Regions from separate parts of the Homo sapiens genome. Here regions 2, 3, 4, 5 and 6 are each linked to region 1. Evidence: promoter capture Hi-C in 16 types of primary human blood cells and fetal thymus (Javierre and others, 2016). All regions are on one chromosome and are shown on one strand. The core of a region is centred on a gene start or on the middle of the fragment in contact, and the rest is flanking DNA. Distances in the headings are between cores, read along the strand shown.

Region 1 (4,227 bases), core at 718-3,217:
CTCAAAAAAAAAAAAAAAGAAGGGGAGCAAGGGGAGGCAGGAGTTTGGGGGAGAGAGAGTTGAGGAGAACCTCTGGATCCATTCCAACCAGCTCTTGGGTGCAGTAGCAAGTTTGTACCAGGTGGCAGGTGGAGCAGGATGCTTTTCCCTAGACGCTCAAGGATGGATGGTGTTCTATACACCAGGCATAGGGTCCCTCTGGGTTTCCAGAGCCTACCTTTCAGAGGACAGCAGAGCTGGCAGGCAGTGGGATAGATCAGGGAGATAGATAGAATTGGATCAAATAGAACACCATAGAGGGTATAGAAACTGGGGAGATACTGGGAAAGTGAAGTGGGCTTCCCTGTGTTCCCTTTCTTTTACAATAAGAAGCTCCCACTTTACAGTTTAGCTTTTGCATTTTGGGGTCACACCACCATCTTACTCCCACTGGGTTGTCTGTTCCTTCTCTTACTCCCCAACATTATGGATTAGGTAGAAATGGGGTTGTCACCAGGGACTAAAGTCCATCCTCCTTACTCTTAGCCTGGTGGTCCTACCCAGAAAGATTTTTATCATAATCCCTAAGTACTCACAGAATGATACGGAGCTTCATGATTAGGAATACAGAGTGAGGACTATTCGGAGAGGGATGATGGAGAGAGGAATACATTTGGCCTTAGCTGCTGCCCCAGGGCTCTTAACTTCCTTAACGAGGGGGAACGATGAGAGGGGGCTTGCCTCAGGATCCCTTTTCTGAGGCTTATTTGACCACCTCACCTCTCCAGGTGTCAATAGGTGCAGTGAAAGGATGAGGAGGGATTAGTAAAACTTGGGGTATTGGTTAACCGGTAAGCAACCTATTTAGAAAGATTAGGGAGAACTCCCGAAGAGAGAGAGACACACAGAGATGAGACAGAATGAAGGGGAAAAAAAGGAGGGAGAGAGATTTAAGCATAGTGAGCTCAGTGCCCTAGGGACATGCATGACTCAAACAAATGTGTGAGAACAAAGAAGAGGGGGACGAGTTTCTGCTATTGTGTCACTTCATCCCTGGACCCCAAACTCCAGTCCTTTGGTACCGATGTCTAGGGGATCCCAGCCCCAGCAGTTCTGATACCTCCTCTCTTCTCTTCCACTGCTTCCCAAGCCCCTATTTCCCAAGCAGCCAAGAGTTCCAGTTAGAAGCAACTATGCTGGGGTTGGGATGTCTTCCTTCTCCCTCCAGGTCCAGCTGATCTCTACTGCCCCTGGGCACAGAGAAGAGAAAGGGCAAAGGAGCCAACAACCCAGAGGCAATCTCCCATCCAACCCCCGCACCTTGCAACACTTCTCAGAGGTTCAGATATCCAGTGTTTCCAATTCCTCAGCTTTCCCTAAACCTTCTCAGCTGCCTAGACAGGGCAGAGTAATGGAATGGAGTTGGGGAAAGGGTAGTCTATTGGTTCCCTCAGGGTAGCCCACCAGTTGAAGGATTCCTCCTGGCTACTCCCCAGCCCCTCAGCGGTGCCTTGCCTCTGGAGACCCCTCTCTGATCCCCATTCACAGCCTCCACCCCAAGGATCCCAGAGCACCCAAGAAACCACTTAGGTCTTCTCCTAGAGGAGTTCCCAAATATGTCAGATTCCTAAACCAGGGGCAATCTAGAAAGTCTGAGGTCTCCTAGGATACCGAAAGTTGGTTATTTTCCCCCCTCACCTCCTTCACCCCCCAGCCTGCCCCTCGGATCTCACTGGAATCCGCCCCCCCCACACACACCCTGCCTTTCAGGCACCTGTGGTGGAGTCACAGCAGGGTGAGGAGAGAGATGAGGCTCCCGGTGTTGTCTCTGGGGAGGCTGAGCCTGAGCTGACACTGCTGGACGAGGATCCCGGCTACCTTTGAGAATCTGCGAGGACCGCGCCCCGCCCCCGGGCCATTGCTGAGCGCTGAGTGTGGAAGCTCAGGCTGAGCTGAGCACAGGAGCCCCAAGCAGGCGCACCAGCGTCTGAAGCCCTCGGCCTGAGTTCTCAGTCCTTCCTCCAACCCTCCCCTTTCCCCGTGGCTCTCCTCTCCTCCTGCCCCTTTCGGCCAAGAGAGGAAACTTGAGCCCGATGTGGTTTCTGCCCACACCCCGCCCCCACCTTGCTCCTGGCCAGCGGGGGCACACATGGCTCCAAGCCTCTCCCAGCCCTCCTTTTCAGCCCAGGAGTCCAGCCAGGTCTGCGTTTCTCCCATGCATTTGACGAATTCCAACCTGATGGTCCACTCGAATGTGACCTTTAAACTTTATACAGGTTGTCGTCGCCTTGTGTCCCCACGGCTCTCCTAGGGACAGGGAAACTGAGTCATATCAAGGTGGAAGGCAGCTGAAGGTAAGGACCAGGTGTCTAGCTTCCCAGCTGTCTAGGCAGTTGGACGTTTAGGGTATAGCCTTCATTTACAGAAAACCTGGGCTCTGGGAACAAGGGCAGGGGAACTATTTGGAGGAGGAGGGGCAACTGACTGCTTTGATGTGTCCTTTCACCTGTAGCCTTCTCCCCTCCCCCCTCAGCCTCAGAAGTCCCAGGACAAAGGATTCTTTCTTGGCCAGGTTTTTGTCAGTGTGTGAAGGGAGTTAGGTGGGGGGCCACCCAGCAGGGAGATTATTCACCTCCCGTAAAGGGGACCCCAGGTGTCCTTTGTCCTCCTTTCTCCCAGGCAAAGCACCCCAGCCACATGGCACCCAACTCTGTTAGGCCAGTAAGTACCCTTATTCATCTTTTTTTTTTTTTTTTTCCAGAGAGGGGCTCACTCTGTCTCCCAGGCTGGAGTGCAGTGGTGTGAACATGTTTCACTACAGTCTCAAACTCCCAGGCTTAAGCAATCCTCCCACCTCAGCCTCCCAAGTAGCTGGTTCTATGGGTCAGTGCAACCATGCCCAGCTAATTTTTTTTTTTTTTTTTTTTTTTGGTAGAAGTGGTGTCTCACTATATTGCCTTGGCTGGTATTGAATTCTTGGGCTCAAGCAATCCTCCCCTCTTGGCCTCCCAAAGTGCTGGGATTACAGGCATGAGCCACCTCACCCAGCCCACTTATTCATCTTTTTGCCTGCAAGCTACACCACCAAAGCCCCAGGTCAAACATCTTTCTCCACAGACTGTGAGAAAAGAGCCTTTCTTCCTCCTAATTTGTAATGGCTTTCAGCTCTATATGTCTAGCTTCAATCCTGACATCTGCAGCTTACATTTTTTCTTCTTACAATGTTCAAGTTAAATTAGAAACATCTGAAGACTGGGGAAGCAGATAGGTGCCACTCTGGAGTAGGACTGGCATTCAACCAGCATGCTCTGATGGGATTGTATTTGCTGTTAAAATAATGAAAATGTTCAGTCCTAGTTGATAAAAGGCAGCTGCTGTGAGCCCTCTAAGTGTCCCCCACGACTCCACCAATAGCCTAGTTCTCCTCTAAGATCCCCAACAACCCAGCAACACAACCATGGAAGTAAAGAGGCAATGCTGGTACCATAAGGAGCCTCCTGTGCTGCCTGCTTCTGCTGGAATTGGCCAATGCCCATGCCAAACCTATGGTTAAATGCTTTGAATTCCATCCCTTTTCCAGTAGATCATGACTGCACATGCATGATCAAGGTAAGACAGGAGGCAATCCAATGCCTTCATTACATGTTACATGTGGGTTCAGAATCTCTTCAGACTTGGGCATGAATCTGGGTCACATATGTAGGCTCTCAGATATAATTCTCTCATTTGCATATTTATTTGGGCCACTCAGAGGGGATGAAGAATGGTAACAGTCACACTTGTGGCTGACTATATAATGATATCAGGTTATAGATAGTCAACAAACATTTATTGAATAAGAATTATCAGTTCAGGATACTGGTGTTGCATAGACAATTATGGGTAACACAAGGCTCATCATTCATTCATTCAACAAATATTTATTGAGTGTCTACTATGTTTTACATCCCAGGAACACAAAGATGAGCAAGACAGTCTGTATCTTCAGTCAAGTCTAGTCAGGGAATTACATTAATAAGGTGTATATAATAAAATAAAATAAAATAGGCCAGGCACGGTGGCTCATGCCTGTAATCCCAACACTTTGGGAGGCTGAGGCTGGCAGATCACCTGAGGTCGGGCGTTCGAGACCAGTCTGACCAACATGGTGAAACCCCTTCTCTACTAAAAATACAAAAATTAGCCAGGCGTGGTGGCATGTGCCTGTAATTCCAGCTACTCAGGAGGCTGAGGCAGGAGAATCACTTG
Region 2 (4,227 bases), core at 1-2,500, 1.7 Mb after region 1:
TATTTTTAGTAGAGGTGGGGTGTCACTATGTTGACTAGGCTGGTCTTGAACTCCTGACCTCAGGTGATCCGCCTGCCTTGGCCTCCCAAAGTGTTGGGATTACAGGCGTGAGCCACTGCACCCAGCCTAAGGCTTAAGTCTTTCCGATGGCTCTTCAGAGGTAAATGGAGCTTACACATAATCTTTCAATTAGGGGTCAGATTCACTAATGAGTGGTGAAATAATTTTCGTGGTTTTTGATCAGCATTTATTAAAATAGAGAACAGAAAGATTAAGTAAAAATAAAGAATAGAACATACCAGCACACCTATGACAAGGGTAAGTATCGTTTCATAAAGCTTGTGTTTCAGTTTTGCATGTGCATGTAATCGTGTTTGTGTGTGTACTGGGTACCAATGTAAAATGTATTCGTGCTATGAATCTGGGTGAAAAACGTTTAAGTCATTAGTCCAGGCTATTCCTCCATCCATTTGTTAGGTGACATACAGCATAGTACAGCGGAGCCAGAATACCTACTGCACGTCAGTTCTTCAATCTTTTTTTTTAATTGATTTATTTATTTTTGAGACAGAGTTTCGATCTTTTTACCCAGGCTAGAGTGCAGTGGCGCGATCTCGGCTCACTGGAAACTCCGCCTCCCAGGTTCAAGATTCTCCTGTCTTAGCCTCCTGAGTACCTGGGATTACAGGCGCCCACCACCAGGCCGGGCTAAATTCTTCAATCTTTAAAGTGAGGATAATAATAGTAGCTACCTATAGGCTTGCTCAAAGTTAAATGAGTTAATATTTATAAAGACGCTTACCACAGGGCCAGGCACTGTGCCAGAGATAAAAAGATGAATGAGAAATAGCCCCAGCCTCAATGCACTTCATTGTGGGATTTTCTCCATATTGGAAGGAGGGATTCACAAAATGCTTGTTTCCTCTCAGGCCTTCCTCTTCGTAATCCTACACCTACCTAGTAGAAGGACTGTCAGAGAAATGAGCCCAGGGCGTCCCCCGGTGGCGCAGCGCCGCCTTCGGTCTAAGCACTTGGGGCAGGGGGGAAGGGGGGGAGGGGGGAGCCTCTTGGCTTCGCACTACAATTCCCACCAAGCATCTGTCCCTCTCTGGCCTCTAATAACGAGTGCGCCTTGTGGTCCAGCGTCTGGCAACTTTCACGCCTAGCGTCGCGTATACCGGAAAACTGCATCGTCCAGAATTGCTTCCGAGTCGGCGCGGCGCAAGGCTTGCTGGGAGACACATAACCTCGATTTTCTTCCGCCATCCGGCTAAATAGTCCCATGTGCACTTTGTTCCATGGATAAATAAACACTAGGAACGCATTTCCACCCTAGATTTCAGCAGAAATGCTGAATGTAAAGGAATATTTGAGTAAAGTGAGTTGCCGTTCTTGAAGCCCGTCTCCTAAGGATTCTCCCGGTGTCCGCGTAGGGATCTCATGCTATATAGGAGGGCCCTGCCAGGCACCGTCTCCTCTCTCCGGTCCGTGCCTCCAAGATGGTGAGTCTTCTTGCGTGGTGAGGGTGGGGGTTCGGGTGCAGACTCTGGGATTGTGGGGAAGTGAGAGCCTGGAGCACGGCTGAGGGGTGGACCGAGTGTACATTTCATTTGCTCTGGGGGTCGGCGGGATTTGCGGAGAAACAGGAGATCCGAGCGGCGCCTTCCTGGAGGCTGCCGGTGCGGCTTGTGGCCGGAAAGGGACTGAGGCTGGGTGAGTTGCGCCGTTTTCCTAACAGTTTTCCCATCCTGTCGCAGACAAAGAAAAGAAGGAACAATGGTCGTGCCAAAAAGGGCCGCGGCCACGTGCAGCCTATTCGCTGCACTAACTGTGCCCGATGCGTGCCCAAGGACAAGGCCATTAAGAAATTCGTCATTCGAAACATAGTGGAGGCCGCAGCAGTCAGGGACATTTCTGAAGCGAGCGTCTTCGATGGTAAGTGGGTCACCGGCGCGAACTGTGTGAGGATCCCAGTATCTTAAAGCCTTCGCCCAACTTCGCCCTTTTGGAGGCTCTGTTCTTTGGAGCCTCTCAGGCAATTTCCACGTATTTAAGGTTGTTACTGGTAGAAGAGAATTCTCTTGTTTGCCGTTTTGATTCTTTTCTGGGCAGAGGGTGACTTTGTGATAGAGTGCACAGCCTTTACTCTGAGGTAAAGGTTTGCCTGTTTCGGTTATGAGATTGCAAAAACTAGAAACTTGGTAAATTTGACAATTCTTGTGCTATTGATTATTTGAATATTTGTGAAAATATACAGGTGAGGAAGAATGTCTTCAACGTTTCGAGAATGGAGGCCGTCTAGTTTGGTGTGCAAGGATGATGTTTGGAGCAATAAGAACGTCGCTTTGTTTTTTTCCTTTTATAGAAAGAGCAAGGTTCAGGGTAGGCATTAGGGCGGGTGTAGGTGTAGAAGGAACTGGATTATTGGTTTATTGCATTTAGAATGTCAGTCTGGTCCTTGCGGTGTCAAGATGAACTCACGTGGGATGTTAATTCACTTGTAAAACTGAGGGTTATACATATGTGCTCAGGTATTGGGCTGAACAGGTGCTTTGGGGGTGCTTTTATGTGCCCGACAGGCATTTAAATAGGTTTAGTTTTAATTGACGTAAACATGTAAGGTGCTCTTCATTCATGTAACAAAAAAGCAAGGTAGGTATATAATACCAGTATAACTCTATTTTCTATTCCTTAGCCTATGTGCTTCCCAAGCTGTATGTGAAGCTACATTACTGTGTGAGTTGTGCAATTCACAGCAAAGTAGTCAGGAATCGATCTCGTGAAGCCCGCAAGGACCGAACACCCCCACCCCGATTTAGACCTGCGGTGAGTATTTTAAAAGGAGAATGGAAGCCAGGGGAGTGATGGTTAAAATTTCATCCTGGAGGGTCAGGGTGTCCTATACCTGTAACCTCAACACTTTGGGAGGCTGGGACAAGAAGATTGCTAGAAACCAGCAGTTCAAGACCCCATCTCTTCAAAAAATATTGAGAAGGAAGCCAAGCATGATAGTGTGAACCTATAGTCTGGCTGCTCGAGAGGCTGAGGCAGGAGGATCACTTGAGCCCAGGAGTTTGAGGTTGCAGTGAGCTATGATTATACCACTTGCGCTCCAGCCAGGGCAAAAGTGAGACCTTGTCTCTTAAAAAAAAAAAAAAGTTGCTTCCTCCTGTGGTGCAGGGGGTATCAAATTAAGGTCTGTGCCTCAGGTTAAGCTGTAAGGCAGGTGAGACCCACACCTGAACATGCTTAGAGACACTGCAAAGCAGTGTTAGAATCAGAATTGGTTTTTAGGATGCAGAGTAGTGTTCTCCCTCCACCTCTATCAGCTTCCCATGCATTTGTAGCCTGAATACATCAGTTTGTGAGAGGATGGTGGTCAAGTTCTTTGGGGGAAGGGAGTCTTGGATCCATGGGTTTTAATTTACTCTTTTGTTTCTTTGTCTTTCAGGGTGCTGCCCCACGTCCCCCACCAAAGCCCATGTAAGGAGCTGAGTTCTTAAAGACTGAAGACAGGCTATTCTCTGGAGAAAAATAAAATGGAAATTGTACTTAATATTGCATGTTAAGTGTATCTGTGCCAGATAAGGTGGGGATTTTGTGTGTTAGACCAAGTGTGAAGTGACACACATTATTTTCATGGGGAAGAAAGCTTATTCATGTAATTTAATTTTTTTCTTTTTTTTTTTTTTTTTTTTGAGACGGAGTCTTTGTCGCCCAAGCTGAATTGCAGTGGCGTGATCTCAGCTCACTGCAACCTCCGTCTCCCGGGTTCAAGTGATTCTCCTGCCTCAGCTTCTTGAGTAGCTGGGATTACAGGTGTCTGCCACCATGCCTGGTTAATTTTTGTATTTTTGGTAGAGATGGGGTTTCACTATGTTGTCCAGGCTGGTCTTGAACTTCTGACCTCAGTTAATCCACCAGCCTTGGCCTCCCAAAGTGCTGGGATTACAGGCTTGAGCCACCTCGCCTAGCTATTTATGTAAATTAAACTTTAATTGTGGTCGTATGGTTGGCCTCACAATTCGCATAGCTGTGTGAAATGGAGATTAGGCATCTGAATTTTGGATTTAACCACATCAAGTTTAAGTTGGCATCCTAAAAATGGGTAAACATTAGGAGAATGAGGAAAAGCTATTAGTTGAGTGAGGAGCACATTGGGAAGTGACCTAAACTGAGGTGTTTATACCCCTGGAGGGGGAACTTGAATAGTGGATGTATGACTTG
Region 3 (4,227 bases), core at 567-3,066, 1.7 Mb after region 1:
TCTCAGCTTACTACAACCTCCGCCTCCCGGGTTCAAGCGATTCTCCTGCCTCAGCCTCCTGAGTGGCTGGGATTACAGGCATGCACCACCACGCCCAGCTAATTTTGTATTTTTAGTAGAGACTGGGTTTCTCTATGTTGGTCAGGCTGGTCTCAAACTCCCAACTTCAGCTGATCCACCTGCCTTGGTCTCGCAAAGTGCTGGGATTACAGGCGTGAGCCACCAAGCCTGGCCTAGGCCTGGCTAATTTTTTTACGTTTCGTAGAGACAAGGTCTCACTATGTTGCTCAGGCTGGTCTTGAACTCCTGGGCTCAAGCAATCCTATGACCACGGCCTCCCAAAGTGCTGGGATTACAGGTGTGAGCCACTACACCCGGCCTCCTTATCTCTTTTCTTTTCTTTTCTTTTTTTATTTTTTTGAGACAGAGTCTTGCTGTTGCCCAGGCTGGAATGCAATGGTGTGATCTCGGCTCACTGCAACCTCTGCCTCCCAGGTTCAAGCGATTCTCATGCCTCGGCCTCCCAAGTAGTTGGGATTACAGGTGCGTACCACCATGCCCAGCTAATTTTTGTATTTTTAGTAGAGATGGAGTTTCACCATATTGGCCAGGCTGGTCTGACCTCAAGTGATCCACCCGTCTCAGCCTCTCAAAGTGCTAGGATTACAGGCATGAGTTACTGTGCCGGGCCTCATCCCCTTTCTTTTTTTTTTTTTTTTTGAGACGGAGACTCGCTCTGTCACCCAGGCTGGAGTGCATTGGTGTGATCTTGGCTCACTGCAACCTCTGCCTTCTGGGTTCAAGTGATTCTCCAGCCTCAGCCTTCTGAGTAGCTGGGACTACAGGCATGTGCCACCATGCCCAGCTAATTTTTGTACTTTTAGTAGAGACGGGGGTTTCACCATATTGGCCAGGCTGGTCTCGAACTCCTGACCTCGTGATCCACCTGCTTCAGCCTCCCAAAGTGCTGGGATTACAGGCGTGAGCCACGGCGCCCGGCCTCATTCCCTTTCTAATGTGTGCTGTAACCCTAGTTGATTCTGCTGGGGGAGGATCTGGAATCATCTATTGAGCATCCCACCACTAGAACAAGAGAAGTCATAAGATACCCCATTCTTTCTCCACTTCCAACTCTCCTCAGAGCAGCACGGGACATTCCAGACCCTCTCACCACCCCACCCCCGCCCCTTGCTCCTGTCACGAGGCCCAATCCCCCAGAGCCCTTTCATGTGATGCTCAGCTGAGACCCCTCTGCCTATCTCTCCAGCCCCAGAACAAAAGGTCTGGGCTGTGTTCACCCGTACCCATCCCAAGAGGAGAGGATTGTATCTCCTTAGTGTTCTTACCCAATACCACATTCTCTGACTCCCCACTTTAAATCTCCTACCCCAAGAGACGTTTCCTAAAAGAGTCTCCTGCACATTTCACCCCTTTGGAGCCCGTGCTCCAGCTCACTGCCAAGGAAGCCTCAGAATCAGTGCCACAGAGACCTTCTATCCTTCTGCCCCTCCAAGCATATGAGATTATTTTCAGGCAAAATCCCAAATCTCCATGTAGGGAGGGAGCCCAGGTGCCCACATCCTCACTAAATCAAATGAGTGGGAGACGCCTGAAATATTGCCGCTATCTCCCATTAGGAGGACAGAAACCAGAGCAGGGGGAATTCATCCCCAAGTTCACACCTGCTCATGTCCACATATCCACACATACCTTTTGTAGCCCCCACAGCCAGCAAAGCACCTATCACAGCCAAATGAAGAAGGCATCTTTTTAGCACCAGATCCATTGTGTTCTTCCCTCCAGCAACCAAAGGCACTGGGGGGACTGGGATAGGCCCCTATATAAGAAAAGGGTGCTCATTTGCATAGCCCTTCCTCTTCTCCCTCAGAGAAGGCCTGGGAGGGGCCGGAGGAGAGGAAAAAGGAAAAACTGACAAAGGGATCCTGGTCCCTAGACATTGCTTTCCCATCCTGCTACTCAATGACAGTTTCTGGTTTCACTGGGTCACTCTCATCTTGATGCACTCCCGGGCAAGAGCTAACTGAAAGGCAGCTGCGTAACACATACCAGACACAACAGTTTATCATGGGAGAGTGAATTAAACCAGGAACTTCTCAAAAAGACAGAAACAGAACCCTGCATCCCAAAACAGAGACAGTGTCGGGGTATGCTATGAGGCAGAGGCAACGACTCCTCTGAGGCCCAGGATTCCTTTGCAACGAGATTCCCGGCTTCCTGGTTTCCAAAGGAGGCTCCTGGGCCAGGTGGAATTTAACCTTAGGTCGATACATATTTTCCCCAGGATTGGTGAAAATAGTGAGTTAGAAATCAAGAAATCCCTACAGACTAGAGACATAGGTAGGAAACTTGGACCCAAAGCAGGTACTTGGGAAGAGTGTTCAGCCGCCCCACCGGGGAAGAAACTTGTCTAGCCCCCAAGAACCAAACTTGCCTGGGGCGGGATCATTTGCGGGGAGGAGCGCTGGGCTCGCCCCCCGGCTCTGACGTTGACCAATAGAAAGGCCTGGGGGCGGAGCCAGGGAAACGCGGGAAGCAGGGGCGGGGCCTCTGGTGGCGGTCGGGAACTCGGTGGGAGGCGGCAACATTGTTTCAAGTTGGCCAAATTGACAAGAGCGAGAGGTATACTGCGTTCCATCCCGACCCGGGGCCACGGTACTGGGCCCTGTTTCCCCCTCCTCGGCCCCCGAGAGCCAGGGTCCGCCTTCTGCAGGGTTCCCAGGCCCCCGCTCCAGGGCCGGGCTGACCCGACTCGCTGGCGCTTCATGGAGAACTTCCAAAAGGTGGAAAAGATCGGAGAGGGCACGTACGGAGTTGTGTACAAAGCCAGAAACAAGTTGACGGGAGAGGTGGTGGCGCTTAAGAAAATCCGCCTGGACACGTGAGTGGCCTCTGTACCCGGGACTCCTAACTGGGGACCTCCTTGATTGTCCCCCCCAACCCCCCACGGGCGGGTAGCCGTCCAGGGACCGGAAGAGAGCAGGGAGGGACTTCTTTAGAAGTGGAGAGGTGGGTTGGGGGCCAGTAGAAGGTGAAGAGTATACTTATACTCCCTGGGGAGAGTATAGGGTGGTGTGGAATCCATGGAAAACTTTCTTCCCAAACTGAGCCGGATCGTGCCCCCAAATGTGCGACTACAGACTCGGGGAGAGAAAGGAGGTCTCTGAGATGAGGTCCAAGACTCTCCATGGAGTGGAGTTATGTGGGAACCGGCGAGAATCGCCTTTCTGAATGAAGAGCCCTCTTCACTGCCCCACCCTCACCTTAGAATTCTCTCCTCTTTCCAAAGAATGGCAGTTGAACCTCACTGGCCCCTCTGGGGAGGCTGGGGGCTACTCCTGCATTTTTTCCCCTCCATTACAGTCTCCCTGCTTCACCTTCACCAGGCGGCTTTACTTACCTACCCCTGGGAAAAGAGGAGATAATGGCCTTAATATATCCAAAAACCACACCCTGACTACCCAAGAATTAGCTCTTACCATCACCCTTTCTCTTCTCTCACTTTCCTAGGGGGTGCTGGGTGGTGTCTCCTTGGGGGAAAGAAATGACTAGGTGGGGGGGAAAGGAATATTTGTAACCATATTCCCATCTCTGCTTTCCCAACCTCTCCAAGTGAGACTGAGGGTGTGCCCAGTACTGCCATCCGAGAGATCTCTCTGCTTAAGGAGCTTAACCATCCTAATATTGTCAAGTAAGTATGCGTCTGAGAGGTGATCCAGCTGGAAAGGAGGATAAGTTCTGTCTGTACAGTGTGGGCATTTCTCTCTCTCACACACCTCCATTTCCTCAAACTTTCCTTCTCTAGGCTGCTGGATGTCATTCACACAGAAAATAAACTCTACCTGGTTTTTGAATTTCTGCACCAAGATCTCAAGAAATTCATGGATGCCTCTGCTCTCACTGGCATTCCTCTTCCCCTCATCAAGGTAATGCTTCTCATCAGCTCCTCTCATCATGGGCATGTCTTGGGGGACTGGTGGCAGGCAATTCAGGGTGATATTTTATGATTTTGGCCTCCTTCTGAGCCCTCATCTCCTATACACACACACTCCCCTTCTTTTTGTGTCTCCTTCCCTGCTCATTATATTCATTAACCCTAGGGTTGGACTGAACAATCAAAGTTGAAACTCTAGTGAGTCAACCTAGCAACTCAGGTGGGAGGTCAGATGAAACTCAGATAAACGGGATTTGAGAGCACTTGGTAAATTC
Region 4 (4,227 bases), core at 617-3,116, 1.5 Mb after region 1:
ATGCCTTTTTCTGGGGAGAGGGTCCATACCTTTCATCAGAGTTTCAAAGATATCTGTGACCTCCAAAAGGTTAAGAAGTGCTCTAGAGAAAAAGCAAAGACAAGCAAATGTGATTAAAGAGCAAGTCCTTTTTAGGCTGTCAGGAGTGCCTAATGTTCTCTTAGACTGTAACACTGAAATCAGGTCAGAGGACTTTACGTAAAAGTTACTTATCCAATCAAATACAAATTTTATATAGACCTGACAAATACAGATTTGATGGAAGGAGGAACTCCATAAACCAACACAATCTATAAATGCAAGTAAGTCATCGGGCAGCTGGTGACTTACTCCAGGGATTTCAAAAATAGGACAAATAGGAAGAAAATATTAGCTCTTCTATATATAGTTCCTTTTTATCTCATTCAAAAATTCCTTTTCTGTGTTATATTTTATAACAGTCCAGAAGTATACAATTTCTATAAGTACAGTATATATAAACAAAGTGGAGATGATTGCTCAATTTTTTTTAACTCATCACAATAAAGATCAAGAGACCGCTGATATAGTCTATGCATTTCAGTATCATCAAGTTAACAATAACTCCAGAATAACACAAAAACCCACTAACAGAGTTTAGAATCCAAGAGTAAGAAAAACATCAGTTTCACAGAAAGACTAATTGGGGTCAACTAATAAGTGACTAAAGAAGGGTCCTCTCCCTACCCTTACTACCCTTAAGCTTTCTTAACAGCAACAAAAACAAAAAAAAACTTTTCGAGCTTTAAAGGATCACTTTTCAGTTTCAGCTATATCAGCCTGGTTTGTCCAAAACATCTAATGGGAAAACTACTTGTGAAACCACAAACAGACAATTACTCAAGATATCTTAATTTACCCTAAAAGAAAATACTTTTTAAAATGTTCTTCTTTTTAATATATTTTTTTAACTTTTTTATATATCTAAGTGTGAAAAAACTACCAAGAGTCTCATAAGACAATTTAAAATAGCTTCTGTGATTCAGTGTCAGCCAATGGTAACACCAGGAGATGCAGGGCCCACCCGAGATATGAAATGGAACAGAGATAATCTTAACCTTGGAATTGTTTTTCCCAAATATTGCAGGTGTGAGTTCTCTCTGGTGGTTGGAGATGGTGTGTGAGGAAGGCTGGCGGGCCGAGAGCCGCGTGACAGAACTCGAAAACTTTTAAATCTGAGGTGTCTGTACTTCTACTATTCTCAAGACCTCCTCAACCCCAGGCTTCTAAGGCGAGACCGATCTTCTGAGAGGCCTCTCCCTGTTTCAAAATTCGGCTTGGGGCGTAATCCCACCTAGAAAAGGGGAGTGGAAGTATTTTCTGAGTGTCTGGTACCTATTTAGACAGAAATACACAAAAATGCCACCATTTGCTAACAGGGAAATCTCAGCTTCGGACGACAGACTGGAAACATCATCCCAGGGAAGAAAAACGGATCCTGGCTCCGACATGGGGCAAAAAGGAGGGACCAACTGACGTAATGCAGCCCTGAAAAGCAACGAAGAGTATAACAGGTAGAAGGCACTTACACAACCCAGTGGGGAAGGGTGACGGACGATACAATGATGAAGGAAGCAGAAATAACAAATAAATATAGCAGTAAAGCCGTGAGGAGAAATGGGAAATTAGGGAAGGCGTAGTGTGGAAGGGTGGCACAAAAGAGCTACGGCGGGAGCCGAGAAACGAAGTGGAAAAGGCTGCACGGAGAAGACGTAGGAGAAGGCGCAAGCTACCCTGTAGAATTCAGTTCCTAGAAAAGTCCAACTCAGCCCTTCCCCGATTCACGGTACCTTTAGCTTATGGAGCTCCACCGTCTCGGTCGCCATCTTGTTACCCCTCACTCCACTAGGCCCCCACCCGCGGCCTCCGCCTCCAGGAGCTCCCGCCTTAGGCGTAGAGATGCAAGGCTGACCAATCGTTGTCACTCTTGCTCCCACGCCATACCATCAGCTCTTCCCATTGGTCAATAGCTGACGTCGCTCTCACTTCTCTAGGCAGCTTGCCCCACCTCTTTCAAAAGGTGGAACTGGGAGAGGGGCGGGCACTGTATCTTGCGAACGACAGAAATGGCAACCAACTGTGCTTCTGCATTACAGACCACCAACCAATGGGTGGTGGCAGCGCTGATTCTGTTCCTCCAATAGGAAAGGGGCAGAAGGAGAGGCGTTACTTCCTGGAGACTTCAGGTGTGGTAGCCGGCGCCGCGCCCATAGCCGGACGGGGATCTGAGCTGGCAGGTAGGAGCTGCAAAGACTGTAAGGGTTGCTGAGGAAAAATGGTGGGAGGCGAAAGGGGCGCCGAGGGAGTGGTGACCTAAATACTGAGAGGGGAGCGCTGAAGGGAGCCCTGAAAAAACCGATGAACATGAGGAGGAAGCTGGGAGGGGCATGGGGCGGGCTTAAGGAACTGGCGGTGGGGCTGGGGCGGGCAAGAGCCGCTTCCTAACCAGACATCATCAGCTTTAGAGCTACCACAATTTTAAAGATCCGAGTTCAGATAATCACTGCTGCCCCTGGAGTCAGAGCCAAGGCTCCACCTTTCGAGGTATTGAGCTCAGGTCCCTTCCTAACCCAGTCCAGAAGCCGTGGGCAAGTTGTTGTCGTGCCCCACGCTTGAGAGAAGTAATGGGGATGCAGACTGTTTACATGCCACGGAGGTGAGAGAGAGGGTGGACAAGCCCCAGAGAACAAAGTGGGGACCAGAGTGAGCTTTACTCTGTCATCCCTTCTTAGTGGTTCTTTGATGATTCCATGACTTTCGCCTGGAATTCTGGGTGTACGTGACCTCTTCATGGTTATTAACTTCTTCAGCAAAGTCAGATACTCCTATTTCCCTTGCTCCCTGAAGTGAGTGCCCCAAGCCTACACATACACCTTCATGTTACAGTTGACGTGTAAAGATCAGAGCAATAATGACTATGTCTCTGAAATGTAGTGAGGACTCTTCTTGTCTTTTAAAGTTTTCCCCAAGTCTTCAGTTTTTATTTTCTGCGTGATGGGTAAGTTCTTCATTCCCAATAGAGTTCAGGGGATTGGGGCTATCTGAGAGACAACTGGGAGATAGCTCAAGAGGGGTTGAGAAAAAACTGAGCTGGACTCCTGCCTGATCCCCCATTACGGCTAGGATGAATGTGGGGGTGGCACACAGCGAAGTAAACCCCAACACCCGAGTGATGAATAGCCGAGGCATCTGGCTGGCCTACATCATCTTGGTAGGATTGCTGCATATGGTTCTACTCAGCATCCCCTTCTTCAGCATTCCTGTTGTCTGGACCCTGACCAACGTCATCCATAACCTGGTGAGCACTAAACCACGCCCTTGTACCCACCCCAGGGTTTCCCAACCAAAAGCAAAATAAAATCACCAATTGTTTGGGGATTTATGTGTTCCTTTTGGGATCTTAACATAATTCTTTGACTGAAAAACTACTTTCTGCCCCTCACACTGCCACCTTCCCTGTTCCCAGGCTACGTATGTCTTCCTTCATACGGTGAAAGGGACACCCTTTGAGACTCCTGACCAAGGAAAGGCTCGGCTACTGACACACTGGGAGCAAATGGACTATGGGCTCCAGTTTACCTCTTCCCGCAAGTTCCTCAGCATCTCTCCTATTGTGCTGTGAGTCTATGGGGGAAATGAGATATGCTGGGTTAGAAAGAGCTCCAAGAGCCAGGTAGAAAGGCCCATAGGGAAGCTGTTAAAAAGCAGACTTCTCATCTAAAACCCTTTGAAGATATTATGGTATACTAGTTCTAAGCCTACAGAGAGCAGTAAAATGTAGATTACAGTCAATACTGTAATCAAGCATTCCTTGCTGCCTCCTTGGTAGTAAGGAAATGAAGGGACTGAGAAAAGATAAGTGCCAAATAAAACCAAATGATTTTACACTGCCAAAAGAAGTAAATAAAGGCAGAACTGATATTAATCTTCAAAAACACTGTAGGGAGTGGAAGCAAAGAGGACTGTAACAGTCATACAGACTGAAATAGCTTGAGCCGTCATTTGCCATGTCATTAACAATTAACAGATACTGACTTACAGTCTCCAGTTAAGGGTGCTATCTCCTGAACCCCAAAGTAAATGCTGTTGATATAGCTGGAATAGTTTTAGATAATCTAGAACTATATACAGTAAAACTGGTCATTTAAAATAGAAGAGAAAGAGCAGGGCACTGTGGTGCATGCCTGGAGTCCCAGCTACTTGGGAGGC
Region 5 (4,227 bases), core at 751-3,250, 1.2 Mb before region 1:
TGGCGGGGTAGGGGCTAGGGGAGGGAGAGCATCAGGTCAAATAGCTAATGTATGCGGGACTTAATACCTAGGTGTTGGGTTGACGGGCAGCAAACCACATGGCACATGTTTACCTATGTAACAAACCTGCACATTCTGCACATGTATCCCAGAACTTAAAATAAAATAAAATAAAATTTAAATTTAAAAAAGAGCCACACTGGGATCCTGCAAGAGCACAGCCATCTCTTTCCCCTTCCCAACTTCCCACAGGCTTTCCATCTTATTCAGGAGCACCAACCCGAAGTCCAGGAGAAAGACCCTAAGACCCTAGCCAGAACCATGTGTAGGACAAAATAAATAGTGATAAAGGGTGTGCAGCAGGACCCCAGTACTCTGGAACCCATCTCTGACAGCCTTGGTTCCAGGGAGCTTGGTCAGAGCTTGTGGCAGGGGGTTGAAGAGCCTTGGTGGAAGGGGTGCTTTCTCTCACCCCTTTCCCAATTTTGCCCTTCCTCTCCTCTGCCCTGGTCTACTTCTCCCATCAGCAGTAGCTTCTCCCATCAGCTGCCCCACAACCCTCTCCTCCCTGCCTCTCCAGTCTGCATCAGTATCTCAGGGAAACAGGAAAACACCATTCTCCAAACACATGTCCTAGGGTCCCAGGGTTGCATGGCGAAGCGGGCTGTGCTGACAATGAGGTTCGTATTATTTCTATTTACCTAAAAGTTCAAGAAGGCCTTGCTGACATTGTTGCTTGGGGCCCAGCATTTAAACTTAGTCACTGCCCAGAGCCCTTGTTTTAGGAAAGAATGAGATGGTCCCTGTTGCATAACCCAGAGTTGGGTGGGTGTGGGTTGCCGAAGGAAACAATCCCTCTTCCTCTCTCTTGTGAGGCCTGGCTAGGAGTGCCTGGGATGGGCGGGACACTGCCTGGGGAAGGCGGGTGGGGAGCGGTGGAACCCGACCCTTGGAGCGAAGGCGGACAAGTAGGTAGGCAAAGATGCTGAGTAGTCCCTCCCCAAAGTCCCCTGGGCACAAGACAGTCTGATGAATCTAGAAAACCCCATGGATGACTGGGAGGGAAGGAAACGGATTCTGGGAGAGGAGAGGAATGGAGGAGCGAGCTTACCTGAAGGACGGGGATGGGGAGGGGGGTGGGGTCTGCTCTCTGGCCACTGTCCCCAAGAGCATCCCGAATACGAGTTCCTTTAATTCTCTCCCTCTCTAGTTTCAACCTGCCAATTTCCCCCTTTCCCTGCCTCCCAGCCAGTTCTCACCCTGCACACAGCCCTCTCCAATCCTTCCAGACTCCGCATGCGCCCACCACAATGCTAGGGTCTCCTACGGTTCATTCAAGTTGTATCCCTCCCTGCCTCCCGGCCCTTCCCCCATTGGCTTACCCCAGTCTGGTTCCCCTCGGGCCCCTTTTCTCCATAGTCTTACCTCAAGGGTGCTTTCTCTTACTCCTTTCCCAATTTTGCCCTTCCTCTCCTCTGCCCTGTTCTACTTCTCCCATCAGCAGTAGAATTTCCCAAGACCCCGTTATCCACCCTCTCCATCTTTTCTCTGTCCCTCCACATTTGCCCACTCCTCTTGTGATCCACACACACCATCTCTTCTCAGTTCCCTTTCAGCCCCCGTCTTCTCACTCCCCACCGGGTCCCTGCATGCCCCTCGTCGTCCTACACATACACACTAAGTGGATTGCACTCCCGTCCTCCCCTTCTTCCGCTCCTCCCCACCCTCCAGTCCCTCCAGCCAGCTGTACAGCTCCCAAATTCCGGGCCGAGATTCCCGGGAACAAAGCAAGAAAAATCAGAGCAATTTGGGAAGTAAACAGAAACTGGAAAGGGAGAGGGAAAGAAGAGTGGGGAGGACCCAGGTTGGGGGGGCCCTCTCCAGTCCCACCCAGTTTAGGGAATGCCCCTGCCCTCTCCCCCACCCCCCTTCACCTGGCTCTTAAAGGGCCCGGCCCCTGGCCGGCGGCTACTTAAGACAGAGGGGCGGCGGCGGGCAGCAGCTGCGCTGCGACTGCTCTGGAAGGAGAGGACGGGGCACAAACCCTGACCATGACCCCCCACAGGCTGCTGCCACCGCTGCTGCTGCTGCTAGCTCTGCTGCTCGCTGCCAGCCCAGGAGGCGCCTTGGCGCGGTGCCCAGGCTGCGGGCAAGGGGTGCAGGCGGGTTGTCCAGGGGGCTGCGTGGAGGAGGAGGATGGGGGGTCGCCAGCCGAGGGCTGCGCGGAAGCTGAGGGCTGTCTCAGGAGGGAGGGGCAGGAGTGCGGGGTCTACACCCCTAACTGCGCCCCAGGACTGCAGTGCCATCCGCCCAAGGACGACGAGGCGCCTTTGCGGGCGCTGCTGCTCGGCCGAGGCCGCTGCCTTCCGGCCCGCGCGCCTGCTGGTGAGTCCGCGCCCCGCCCCTGCCCCGCCCACGTGAGACCCGCGTCCTCCAGGCAGGGTCCTGGGGAGACGGGAGTGGGTGGCCCGGCAAGCCTTTCCGCCCTGGCCCTTGACGCTTCCGACTTTGGGGGGCACATTTGTGTGGGGGAGAAGGGGCAAGTGCAGGAAGCTGAGGTGCAGCCAGGGGACCTGGTGATACAGCAGAAGGTGTCTGCGCTCTCGGCCTTCTTTTTTGCTCCATTTATTTTCCCTTGATGGAGTGTGCGTGCAGGTGGGAACTTGGGGGAGGCAGGGGGAGAAATGGGAGGGTTTTAGGGCCATCCCATGGGCTCCAGCAGGCCCAGCTCCTACAACCCTAGACGGCCAAGCTGGGGAAAGGACCCAAATGTTGTTCTCAGCTTCCACTTGGAGAAAAGGGGAGGGGAACCCCAGACTCTGAAATTCTGCACACACTGAGAAATGACTCCTTTCCTCCTAATACCGGTGTTCGAAGCACCTAAACAGGAGGCGTCTAGAACCGAAGAGGCCCCAAATCCAGGGTTGTATTAGACTTGAGTAGGGACTGAGGGCAGGCTAGGGCGTAGGTTAGGGGAGAGGGGAGAAAGAGTAGGGGAAAGAGGGAATCTGCCAAATCAGGGTTATGATTTAAACCTGCTCAGAATCGTTCACCCATCCTACCCCACCCTGCTCCAGGGAGGAGAGCAGAAGCTGAGTCACTGGGTGGGTGGGACAGAAGTGAATCAGCCGTGAAAACATGGGGGGCAGCGGGGAGATGGGGAGGGCAGGAAATGCAAACTGCGCATCCCAGAGGCTCTGGGTTCCTTCCACGGGAGGGGATGGAGAATTCACTTGGAGTTTCTTTCAGTTCCAAATGCCCGAGTGCAGGCTTCTGGGCGTCCTCCTAAAAGGTGGTCTGGGTGGATGAGAGGAGGCAGTTTGGAACTAAATGGTTGGGTGCTAAATGTAGGGAATGAAGGAGAAGGTCTGGGGAGGGGTGGGCATCCTGAGGAAGAAGGATCAGACTCAGGATTGCAGGGGAAATGTCTCCTGGGTTGTGAGTGGTAGTTAGCTGGGAGCTTGTCTTTAGGCACAGAGGAAGAGGATCCCTTCAGGGGTTCTGATATCTGATTAGATGTTAGGCAAATTCCAAGCAGTCAGTACATGCTCCCCTTTCTGCCTTTTCCTGTCCCTGACTTATTTCCTCACCCCTTCCCAGTCCTGAGCTCTCCCCGGACCCTCCGGAAACTTTCTCCAGAGCCAGGAGCAACCTGCAGGTTGGAAGCCCCTCATTCCTTGCACCTTCTTAATCTGCCCTCAGCCTATCTTGGTTAAGGGTTGAATCCATGTGCTCCTGGGACCACTGGGGTTGAGCTGGCCTGGGTCACAGGGTACCAGAAGGGAGAGGTTCCCACTGCAGTGCCCCAGAAGTAACCACATCTCAGGCCTGGGAGGGGTGGGTTGAGTCATAGCAAGGTCACAGCAGGGACACACATTCCTTTTGGGTCCCTGTTGGCCCCCCTCCTACATCCGTTGCTCTTCTGCCCCAGCTCTCCGGCTTCGTGCGCCCCCTTCTGGCCTCTGGTGGAACAGCCAGGTCTTTTCACCCAAAGCCCAAAGCCCCAAATAGTCCTTTGAATTTGTTCTCCATTTTTTCATTTATTTTATTATTTATTGTAATTAATTGATTGATTTTTAAATTAGTTAATTTTTTAAAATTAAGTAATTAGTTAATTTTTTAAAATTAAGTAATTAATTAATTTTTTAAAATTAAGTAGTTAATTTTTTTTAATTAAGTAATTAATTAATTTTAAAAAGTATTTATTTATTTTGAGACAAAGTCTCA
Region 6 (4,227 bases), core at 514-3,013, 1.0 Mb before region 1:
GGACAAAGCCTGCTGGGCCTGGCTGGGCCTCAGCAGACAAATCTGGAGGAGAAAGGGGCATCAAAATGCTAAGTAGAGACAGGCCCAAGGAAGGGTAGTGATAGACCCTTTGAGAGTGTTTTGGCCAGGTACCATCCGTCCGTCCTGTCTTCCTGCCGCAGGTATCTTTGGAGTGGCACTAGTGTTTTGTTTTTTGTTTTTGTTTTTTTTTGAGACAGAGTCTTGCTCTGTTGCCCATGCTGGAGTGCAGTGGCGCAATCTCGGCTCACTGCAACCTCTGCCTGCTGGGTTCAAGCGATTCTCCTGCCTCAGCCTCCTGAGTAGCTGGAACTACAGGCACATGCCGCCACGTCCCACTAATTTTTGCATTTTTAGTAGAGACAGGGTTTCACCATATTGGCCAGGCTGGTCTCGAACTCCTGACCTTGTGATCCACCCTCCTCAGCCTCCCAAAGTGCTGGGATTACAGGCGTGAGCCACCGCGCCCAGCCATGGCACTAGTTTTAATGCCTCAGTTGCCCTGCCTGCCTCCTAAGTAGATGTTAAAGGCTACTGCTGTCTGCCCATGTACACCTGTTACACTTACCAATGTGTAACTTTAGCAGTAGAGTCTGTGGATCTGTGGAGTTCTAGTGTGGTTTTTCTCTCCAATTGTTAAGCTCAAGGGAAGCAAGTATCTTACACTCTCACGTATCCCTCACATACAGCACATGGTAAAACCTTTTTTTTTTTGAGACAGAGTCTAGCTCTGTTGCTAGTGTGCACAATCACAGCCTACTGCAGCCTCAACTCTCCAGCTCAAGCGATCCTCCCACCTCAGCCTCCCATGTAGCTGGGACTACAGGCGTGTGCCACCAGCCCGGCTAATTTTTGTATTTTTTGTGGAGACGGGGTGTCGCCGTGTTGCCCAAGCTGGTCTCAAACTCCTGGGCTCAAGCAATCTGTCCTTCTCGGCCTCCCAAAGTGCTGGGATTGCAGGCGTGAGCCACCATGCCCGGCCAAAATATTTTATTGATTAATTTGTGCTGTACTTGGTTGACAATGGCGCTTCCTTGCTGTTCTCCCACCACCTCACTGGCAACGGGTGATAAACCCTTTTTCAGATCCTACTACGTGTCAGCCTACTTCCGGCTGGGGGAAGATGGTTATAGCGAGAGGGGAAGAATTGGTTCAGTGATGAGAACATGGTTGGTTCCTGCCTTCGACAAGCTTTCAATCTAATGCCTGTTTTTTTCCAAGGACAATTCAGAACGGTCTGACAAGGGATTTTTTTTTTTTTCCTGCCTTTCGGCCTCAGAGGCCATCTGGGAAAAAGAGTTTAGAATTTCCCTGCCATTTCCATGCCGTGCTGGGAGGAACATTTGAAATCGGGCCTGGCGGGGTACCAGCAGGCAGCAATAGCAAGCGGGGTGGAGAGGAGCAGGGCCAGGCCCCCGAGCCGTCGCCATGGCAATCCAGCCTGCTTTCCAGTAGCTTATACCACCCACGTGGAGTAGCATACACTACTTTGTAATATCGTGGTTGTGTCGTGAGAACTTTAAGATTTTGCAGTTCCTTGTAGGCAGGAGTCCTGTTTGCTGCTACTTTACAATACTAGGCTTAAGACATTTTATGAAATGAACTCACACAACAGTCTCTGAGAGGCTCAAGCCCCTCCTTCCCTTCCGGGACGGAGGATCATAGAGCTGTCTGGCGCAGCGAGGCCTCCCGGCGCCACCGAGACGCGCAGAGGACGGCTAGAGCGTTGCTCGCCGAGAGACTTCCTCTTCGTTAAGTCGGCCTTCCCAACATGGCGCAGTCTATTAACATCACGGAGCTGAATCTGCCGCAGCTAGAAATGCTCAAGAACCAGCTGGACCAGGTGGGGACGGGCCCCAGAGGCACCTCTTTCCTGCTCTACATCCCCCTTGCCCACGCGTACTTCTCGCGCCCGGTTCCAAGTTGGCAGCCTACCTTTCCCAGGCGAAACCTCTATCCGATCCCAGGACCTGCCCCCTCCCCGGCCGCGCTCCTTTCTCCCCTTAGTCCTCTCATTGACCCGCTATCCCGGTCCTCTGTAGGAAGTGGAGTTCTTGTCCACGTCCATTGCTCAGCTCAAAGTGGTACAGACCAAGTATGTGGAAGCCAAGGACTGTCTGAACGTGCTGAACAAGAGCAACGAGGGTATGGGGTAGGCGGGTGAGGGTAACCTAAAGTGGCGAACCTGCTTCTCTCGTCCCACCTCCTAACCCAGTTTTTCTTACCTGAAACGAGAAAATCCATTACATATCGTATACCGCTTCATGAACCCTTTGCATGTTGCCTGCCTAGAATTGAAAAGTACAGGACATTCCTCTGCTCCTATTGCCCCTGTTTCCGTTCTTTTCACACTGTCTGTGGGTGCTGTGCCCTGTTGGAACTCTCTTTAACGTCTTACGTTGGAGCCGCTAACCTTCCCCAGGTGTTTGTCTTCATTGCTTTCACAGGGAAAGAATTACTCGTCCCACTGACGAGTTCTGTATCCTTTCCACAGGAACGGCTACCTGCTGCCTTCTCCCTTTCTCCTTCACTCCCCCAAAAAGCGGGGAGGGGGATTGTTTTGATTACTTCAGATTACCCTCTCCTCACAATGATTTTGAGGATACCCTTTTTTTTTTTCTTTCTTTTTTGAGACGGAATTTCGCTCTGTCGCCCAGGCTGGAGCGCAATGGTGAGATCTTGGCTTACTGCAACCTCCGCCTCCCGAGTTCAAGAGATTCTTCTGCCTCAGTCTCCCGAGTAGCTGGGACTTTAGGTACGCGCCACCACGACCGGCTAATTTTTGTATTAATAGTAGAGTTGGGGGTTTCACCATATTGGCCAGGCTAGTCTCGAACTCCTGACCTCGTGATCCGCCTGCCTCGGCCTCCCAAAGTGCTAGGATTACATTACAGGCGTGAGCCACTGCCCCCGGCCAAGAATACTCTTATTACACACTTTGTAGCTCTTTTATCTGACTTCACACCAACATCCAGCTAATGTCTTGTGAACACCAAGGAGTATGTATAGTTGAGATGTAATATTTCCCTTTGCTGTTTGAGAACATTAATATGGAGATAAAGCTGGTGGTTTACACTTTGCTAATATCTTAGAAGATACAGGCAATAGACAAAAATAGGAGGATATAGAAACAGGGAGCTTGGCTCTGTTAATCTTCAACTTCAGCTTAATTGTGGCTCATTTCTAAACTGTCACTAAGAAACCTGGATTGTGTTCACTTGTTCAGTGTTTTATTTGAATGAGCAAGTTATGGCAGTAGGGCATCTTTAATCTGTAGTCTCAGAACTGACAGGCTAAAAGGAACACAGGAATAGTAGTGTGTAGTAGGGAATGGTTTAAAAAAAAAAATTAGCCAGGCACAGTGGTTCACGCCTGTAATCCCAGCACTTTGGGAGGCCAAGGCTGGCAGATCACCTGAGGTCAGGAGTTAGAGATCGGTCTGGCCAACATGGTGAAACCCTGTCTTTACTAAATATACAAAAATTAGCCAGGCGTGGTGGCACATGCTTGTAATCCCAGCTACTCCGGCGACTGAGACAGGAGAATTGCTTTAACCCGAGAGGCAGAGGTTGCAGTGAGCCGATAGCGGGCAATTGCACTCCAACCTGGGCGATAGAGCGAGACTCTGTCTCAGAAAGCAAAAAACAAACAAAACATTGACTTTGTCAGGAATTAGCTACTTCATGATTGAGGGCATTAAGGGAAATGAGGCTGGCTTTTTACTTGTAGTACTCTACAACAGTAGGAAAACATGTCTAGTCTTTCTGGAGGGGCTAATGGGAAGAATTGCAAGAACTGCTTAGAGAGTGAGAGATGGGATGAGGCAGGACAAGAGGGTGTTCCAGCATACATCATTTTCTCCTTAAAGAACCAACTTCTCTGTCTTCTTTCCATTTGGAGTTATAGGTATTGTTCTAAGGCCTCCAGATTATTCAGTCCTTATGCCTTGTAGCTTTTTGGAAAAAGAGGGTCTTTGGAGGCCAAGCAGGCTGGCTGGCGGAATCATGGCTCATGCTGGGCTGGCTAGTTTTTCCCTTAATTCTTGCTTCTCAGATGTATGTCCCTGGGAAGCTGCATGATGTGGAACACGTGCTCATCGATGTGGGAACTGGGTACTATGTAGAGAAGGTGAGTGAGAGCATGTGGATGCCCCTCTAAACAGGGAAGGGAAATTCAGGGGAAGCTCTAGAGCGCAGCATGGCCAGAGGG

Evidence for each region. The method cuts DNA at HindIII sites, captures the fragments that hold promoters and counts their contacts. A CHiCAGO score of 5 or more calls a contact.
Region 2: the fragment with the promoter of RPS26 here is called in contact with the fragment with the promoter of NFE2 in region 1 in 1 of 17 cell types (erythroblasts); the score reaches 7.2 in erythroblasts.
Region 3: a contact is called between the fragment with the promoter of PMEL here and the fragment with the promoter of NFE2 in region 1, in 1 of 17 cell types (neutrophils). The highest score is 8.5, in neutrophils.
Region 4: the fragment with the promoter of SARNP here is called in contact with the fragment with the promoter of NFE2 in region 1 in 1 of 17 cell types (erythroblasts); the score reaches 6.8 in erythroblasts.
Region 5: a contact is called between the fragment with the promoter of IGFBP6 here and the fragment with the promoter of NFE2 in region 1, in 2 of 17 cell types (naive B cells and total CD4 T cells). The highest score is 6.0, in naive B cells.
Region 6: a contact is called between the fragment with the promoter of PFDN5 here and the fragment with the promoter of NFE2 in region 1, in 1 of 17 cell types (erythroblasts). The highest score is 5.6, in erythroblasts.

What each region holds. Positions count from the first base shown.
Region 1 is chr12:54,299,048-54,303,274 of GRCh38, forward strand. It overlaps NFE2 (nuclear factor, erythroid 2), which reads right to left and starts at 1,968. Exons shown (of 3, transcript NM_001136023.3): 1 at 1,754-1,968. RefSeq lists a cis regulatory region at 1,740-2,714 and an enhancer at 2,115-2,855. The HindIII fragment of the contact is 10,882 bases long and covers 1-4,227 here.
Region 2 is chr12:56,040,668-56,044,894 of GRCh38, forward strand. RPS26 (ribosomal protein S26) reads left to right here and starts at 1,251. Exons shown (of 4, transcript NM_001029.5): 1 at 1,251-1,502; 2 at 1,758-1,935; 3 at 2,696-2,826; 4 at 3,452-4,030. The coding sequence starts at 1,500. The coding sequence ends at 3,487. RefSeq lists enhancers at 972-1,761, 1,210-1,539, 1,680-1,939 and a silencer at 1,000-1,059. The HindIII fragment of the contact is 3,314 bases long and covers 337-3,650 here.
Region 3 is chr12:55,964,226-55,968,452 of GRCh38, forward strand. PMEL (premelanosome protein) reads right to left here and starts at 1,817. Exons shown (of 11, transcript NM_001384361.1): 1 at 1,711-1,817. The coding sequence starts at 1,786. CDK2 (cyclin dependent kinase 2) reads left to right here and starts at 2,605. Exons shown (of 7, transcript NM_001798.5): 1 at 2,605-2,899; 2 at 3,632-3,709; 3 at 3,824-3,944. The coding sequence starts at 2,784. RefSeq lists an enhancer at 2,296-2,375. The HindIII fragment of the contact is 16,386 bases long and covers 1-4,227 here.
Region 4 is chr12:55,815,858-55,820,084 of GRCh38, forward strand. SARNP (SAP domain containing ribonucleoprotein) reads right to left here and starts at 1,867. Exons shown (of 11, transcript NM_033082.4): 1 at 1,809-1,867. The coding sequence starts at 1,844. It overlaps ORMDL2 (ORMDL sphingolipid biosynthesis regulator 2), which reads left to right and starts at 2,184. Exons shown (of 4, transcript NM_014182.5): 1 at 2,184-2,255; 2 at 3,142-3,316; 3 at 3,485-3,636. The coding sequence starts at 3,143. The HindIII fragment of the contact is 4,326 bases long and covers 720-4,227 here.
Region 5 is chr12:53,095,667-53,099,893 of GRCh38, forward strand. It overlaps IGFBP6 (insulin like growth factor binding protein 6), which reads left to right and starts at 2,001. Exons shown (of 4, transcript NM_002178.3): 1 at 2,001-2,385. The coding sequence starts at 2,052. RefSeq lists silencers at 2,309-2,388, 2,399-2,518, 3,806-4,021. The HindIII fragment of the contact is 8,294 bases long and covers 1-4,227 here.
Region 6 is chr12:53,293,779-53,298,005 of GRCh38, forward strand. PFDN5 (prefoldin subunit 5) reads left to right here and starts at 1,764. Exons shown (of 6, transcript NM_002624.4): 1 at 1,764-1,861; 2 at 2,061-2,163; 3 at 2,466-2,497; 4 at 4,072-4,146. The coding sequence starts at 1,790. RefSeq lists enhancers at 1,447-1,986, 1,472-2,671. The HindIII fragment of the contact is 3,517 bases long and covers 1,208-4,227 here.